2 separate regions of the Homo sapiens genome follow, and region 1 is linked to region 2. The links are contacts of gene promoters, found by promoter capture Hi-C in human tissues and cell types (Jung and others, 2019). All regions are on one chromosome and are shown on one strand. Each heading gives the region's core, a stretch centred on a gene start or on the middle of the fragment in contact. The rest is flanking DNA. Distances are from core to core; before and after follow the strand shown. Region 1 overlaps WDR33 (WD repeat domain 33). Region 2 holds the start of LIMS2 (LIM zinc finger domain containing 2).

Region 1 (2,862 bases), core at 318-2,817, 130 kb after region 2:
CAGGCTGGACACGGTGGCTCACGCCTGTAATCCCAGCACTTTGGGAGGCCAAGGCAGGTGGATCACTTGGGGTCAGGAGTTTAAGACCAGCCTGCGCAACATGGCGAAACCCCATATCTACTAAAAATACAAAAATTAGCCGGACATGGTGGCAGGCACCTGTAATCCCAGCTACTCAGGAGGCTGAAGCAGGAGAATCGCATCAATAGAAAAATGCAAAACAAAACCACGATGAGCACCAGGAACAGTGGTTCCAGCTACTCGAACCACCTCCTGCTGGAGTTCAGGCAGGAGGACTGCTTGAGCCCAAGAGTTCGAGGCTGCAGTGCACTGTGATCACACCTGCACTCCTGCCTGGGCAACAGAGTGAGACCCCGTCTCTAAAATATATAAATAAATGAATACCACAATTAGATAACACTTCACATCCACTGGGATGGCTATGGTCAAAAAGAGGGAAAATAAGAAGTGTTAGTGAGAATGTGGAGAAACAGTAACCCTCATGAGAAGTCCATCTGGATTACAAAAGAATAGTGGTTGTTAGGCATAAAATAAACTGAAAATTAGGTGGGAAAATAGTCAAGAATTTCCTCAAATGTTAAATGTCAAAATACCATGTGACCCAGCAATTCTACGCCTAGGTAAATTCCCAAGGGAACTGAAAGCATTATGTCCACACAAATATTTGTACGTGAATGTTTACAGCAGCGTTATTAATAATAATCAAAAAGTGAAAACAATCCTAATGTCCATCAACTGAATCATAAAAATTACAGCTTCTGATCCCAAATCACCATCAACACTTAACAAAAATAATCTTTCTCCTTAAAAACAAGAAGCAAGCCTGGGCGCAGTGGCTCATGCCTGTACTCCCAGCACTTTGGGAGGCCGCGGCAGGCGGATCATGAGGTCAGGAGATCAAGACCATCCTGGCTAACATGGTGAAACCCCGTCTCTGTTAAAAAAATTCAAAAAAATTAGCCAGGCGTGGTGGAGGGCGCCTGTAGTCCCAACTACTCGAGAGGCTGAGGCAGGAGAATGGCATGAACCCAGGAGTCGGAGCTTGCAGTGAGCTGAGATCGCATCACTGCACTCCAGCCTGGGCAACATAATGAGACTCCGTCTCAAAAAAAAAAAAAAAAAACCAACAAGCAAAAAAATTCAAATGTTATGAAGGAATTGCAGAGGGAAAAAAATAATAATAAAACCATAGACTTTACAAAGCCTATTTCTGTAAACTGTACTTGGCCCTGAGTTTTAATTTAAATCTATTCCTGTATATGAAACTGAAACTTTATTAAAGCTATTTAAGACAGAAATCTCCTTCCTTTTACAAAAAATAATTGTGTACACAGTATTGCCACAATAAACTGGTTAAAGCTCTTTACTGAAACTTTTAACAGTCTAACTTCTGAAACTCAATGATAGCTGTAGTGATGGAATATTACTATTATTGGGCTGTAAAACTTTAGGATGGGCATAGTGGCTCATGCCTATTGTAATCTCAGCACTTCAGGAAGCCGAAGTGGGAAGATGGAGCCCAGGAGTTTGAGACCAGCCAGGACAGACAACATAGTGAGACCCTGTCTCTAGGAAAAAAAAAAAAAAGAAAAGAAAAACAAAATTAGCCAGGCATGGTGACATACACCTGTTGTCCCAGCCGCTCGGGAGGCTAAGGCAGGAGGTTTGCTTGAGCCCGGGACGTTGAGGCACAGTGAGCTATGATTATACCACTGTACTCCAGCAGGGGTAACAGAAGGAGACCTTTTCTCAGAGGAAAAACACACACAGACACAGAAAATAATAACTGTTGGTAAGAACATGAAGAAATTGGAACCATTGTGTACTGACTGTAAAATGGTACAATGAGGCTGGGCATGGTGGCTCACACCTGTAATCCTAGCACTTTGGGAGGCCATGGTGGGAGGATCACTTTGAGGCGAAGACCAGCCTGAGCAACACAGTGAGACTCTGTCTCTAAAAAACAAACAAACAAACAAAAAACACACAACAAAAAAAAAAAAAACAGTACAATCACTATGAAAAACAGTATAGAGGTTCTTCAAAAATGTTAAAAACAGAATTACATTATGAGCCAGGTGCAGTGGTTCATGCCTATCTCAGGACTTTGTGGAGCGGAGGCATGTGCATCACTTGAGGTTAGGAGTTCAAGACCAGCCTAGCCAACATGGTGAAATCCCATCTCTACTAAAAATACAAAAAATTAGCTGGGCGTGGTGGTGCACACCTGTAGTGCCAGCTACTCGGGAGACTGAGGCAGGATAATTGTTTGAACCCAGGAGACGGATGCTGCAGTGAGCCGAGATCGTGCCACTGCACTCCTGCCTGGGTGATACAGTGAGACTCCATCTCAAAAAAAATGGTTAAGGCCAGGCACAGTGGCTCCTGCTTGTAATCCCAGCACTTTGGGAGGCTGAGGCAGGCAGATCACTTGAGGTCAGGAATTCCAGACCACCCTGGCCAACATGGTAAAACCCCGTCTCTACTAAAAATACAAAAATTAGCCAGGTGTGGTGGCATGCACCTGTAGTCCCAGCTACTCAGGAGGCTGAGGCAGGAGAATCACTTGAACCCAGGAGTGAGCTGAGATCACGCCACTGCACTCCAGCCTGGAGGAGAGAGCAAGACTCCGACTCAAAAAAAAAAAATTAAGACAGTAAAATTTTGCTATGCATTTATCACAATTTATAAAAAAAAAAATCAAGTGTCACAAGCATATACAGCATGCCAACTTTCTTCTAAGAATGTGAAAATAAGAATATACACAGTAAAAACTGGAATGAACTCCAGAGCTCAGAGACAGAAGCAAGACTTAACTACTTTTTCTTCAGCCTCCGTCTC
Region 2 (2,951 bases), core at 62-2,561:
TGAAGAACAGCATCCCCCTGCCAGGACTTGGCTGGGGGAGACCAGGGCCTCAGGGACAGCCCCCTCCCACCCAGTCCTGAGTCATGCACTTGTACCCAGCTAGGTTCCAGAAAGGGCTGCAGGGACAAACACTGGCCGGACACTGGTGGACCTGTGACTGGCCTCCTGAGTGGCTCAGCCTCTGTGGCCTCTGGTGACCTCATCTGTGAAATGGCAACGAGGGGCCTGAGAGCAGAGGGTGGGCCAGGCCCAGGGGAGCGCCCTGTCCCCAACCAACCCCTGCACAGCTGGTGCTTGGGCGCAGCTCTGGCCAAGTTCCAACATACCCTTCAACATTTTTAACATTTTTACCACCCCAGGTTTACAGAGGAGGAAACGGAAGGCTCCAGAGATGACACTCACCGGGATCGGGGATCGCACAGCGCGGGCTCGGGGAAGTTGGGGGAGGCACGCAACCTTTGAACCTTTTGCCCGTGGTTGGTGTCTGACCTTGGACAAGACCCCCTCCCGCAGCCCTGGGCGTCGGTTGTGAGCAGACGGCTGTCCCATCTTGCAGCGGGCGGGTGGGCAGGAGCTCCACCTTCCGCTGCAGGCGCTCGCCCAGAGGAAGAGGCGCGGGGGCTGGGGGACCCCTGCCCCGACGGGCGCTGCCGCCCCGGCAGCTGCGAGAATCCGACGCGCCAGGGCGGAGCGGGGATCGTGGCGCCGCGGGGCTGTACGAGGGCGAGCTGCGCCTCGGCCAGGGGTCCCGCAGTCCCGCCTCCCCGGCCCGGGGGCGTGGGTGGGGGCCGTTACCTTCCCGTCATGGTGGCAGCGACGCCGAGCCCTGGGTTGCCGGGGTTGCCGCGGGTCTCCCTCTGCTGCTGCAGCCGCCAGCCGAGCGCCCGCCCGCCAGCCCGGGCCGCGGAGCAGGGAGACGCCCAAAAAAGGCCAAGAGCCGCTCCGCCCGCGAGAGGGGTGGGCGGGGGTGGCAGGGTGGGGCCCGCGGGGCGGGGTGGGATGGGGAGGTCAAGGCTGAGGGTGGTGGGGGTGTTGGGGAGGTGACGGTGGGAGGTTGCGGGAGTATAGGTGGGGGTGGGGGTGGCAGGTGGGGGTGGCGGCGGGTAGGGTTGGAGGGGTGGGGGTTAAAGGTGGGGCTGACGGTGGGGTTGGAGGGGTGAGAGTGAGGCGGGGGTGGGAGTGGGGGTAAAAGTAGGGGTAAAGGTAGAGGGTGGGCCCCGCTCCCGCACAGCCCCAGCTCCAGGGACACGGAGCGCGGCCAGCGGCGGGCGCGGGTCAAGTCCTTCCCAACCCGGGCTCTGCTCGCCACCTCCTGGATTCCGGGCATAGCTTTCCTTTTAAAGGGAGTAAAGTTATAATAAACGCGAACAAGCACCCCCACCCCCACAGCCCCGCCGGGACGCCCCGCCCGGCGCCCCCTCTGCAGTCCCTGGGCCGCCCCAACCGCAAACGCGTGCAGGAGATGGTAGGCGTGGGGGCGATGCTGAGACCACCTCCCTCCCGGGCTTTCCTAGCCCGGAGTTCCCACCGCGGATCTGGGCACTGACTCCCTCCCGAGGCACCCGGGACCGCCGAGTCCACGCAGTCCCGCCCCCAGGGAGGCTAAAGCCGAGAGGCGTCCCTCTTCAGTCGCAAAGCTGCTTTCCCCGGGAAATTCCGATTTCATCCCCCGTTGCGGGCCATCGCCCTAACTTGGCGAAAGATATTTCTTAAACGACAAAACCAAATGCCCAGCTCCCAGGTTTCCAGGGGAACCAGGCACGCCTCTGTATAATGAAGCGCTGAGAAGCTACCATTAGAGGCGTTAAGATGGAGGGGTAATATAAACTATTTAGGGAATCTCTTCGGAGGAAATTTTCAAACAAACAAAACAAAAAACCCCCGCCCTGCCTAAAGGCAGATATTTCCAGCTGGACAGTGGCGTGCAGCTCATCTTTGGAAGCAGCCCAGATGTCACACTGAGGTTTGGGAGCTGGGCGGCCTGATGTGTAAATGTGGTGCTACTCCGGTCTTGGCAGCAGAGAAAGATGATCTAGAAATGACGGTGTGAATTAGCAACCCACAAATAAACTGGTGCCGTTCAGAAAGATGAGTTGATAGTATCCTGCAGTTCCACCTGCAGAAATAAGCTGGGAAAAGACACCTGTTCCTAAGTGGCTGGTATTGTGGAGTGCCTTTGCAGTTGTTACTTTTTTTTTTTTTTTTTTTTTGAGACGGAGTTTCGCTCTTATTGCCCAGGCTGGAGTGCAATGGTGCAATCTCCGCTCACTGCAACCTCCGCCTCCCAGGTTCAAGCGATTCTCCTGCCTCAGCCTCCCAAGTAGCTGGGATTACAAGCATATGCCACCACACCCAGCTAATTTTGTATTTTTGATAGAGATGGGTTTCACCATGTTGGTCAGGCTGGTTGCAAACTCCTGGCCTCAGGTGATCCGACTGTCTCGAGTTATTACTTCTTGTTGCGAGCGTGTCTCAGCTGATTCGGCTTAACTGTAATTTGATGGTTGATTAAGCTTAAGTATGGATAATTTCTTGGCTCACCTGCTCATACAGGGAGAAAGGCTTTCCACCATTACTGACACAGAGGTGTAGGCATGCTGGGGCCGTGCACCAGAAATCCACTGCTGGACGGTTAATTGAATATCAGGGTCTTGTGGGAACCAAAGAGGATGAAAAGTTGAAAGCATTACACCAGAGGCCCATGCTCTCCACAGAGGAGACCACATTCCTGCCTTTTAGCCCAAAAGCCTCCCTGCATATGATAGCTGAGCACACACGGATCTGTATGTGGCCAAACCAGGACCCTATGCAGCTCCCAGTGTGCCTCATCCCTGGGCCAGGGCAAGCTCAGTAACAGCTGGTAGGGGTTGTGGGCATGGCTTAGCCCTGCTGGAGATGCAGAGGCTTCAAGGAGCCAGGGCCAGCCTCCCACAGTTCAGCCAAGAGGGCAG

What was found. The method cuts DNA at HindIII sites, captures the fragments that hold promoters and counts their contacts. A contact is called where the count stands out against the background at its distance.
Region 1: a fragment that was not itself captured here is called in contact with the fragment with the promoter of LIMS2 in region 2 in 2 of the 25 tissues and cell types used here (aorta and pancreas).

What each region holds. Positions count from the first base shown.
Region 1 is chr2:127,799,511-127,802,372 of GRCh38, forward strand. All of the region lies in intron 1 of WDR33 (WD repeat domain 33), which reads right to left. Among named protein-coding and RNA genes, the nearest start is that of WDR33, 10 kb to the right of the region's middle. The HindIII fragment of the contact is 5,125 bases long and covers 1-2,862 here.
Region 2 is chr2:127,674,219-127,677,169 of GRCh38, forward strand. LIMS2 (LIM zinc finger domain containing 2) reads right to left here and starts at 1,312. Exons shown (of 10, transcript NM_001161403.3): 1 at 796-1,312. The coding sequence starts at 806. The HindIII fragment of the contact is 18,801 bases long and covers 1-2,951 here.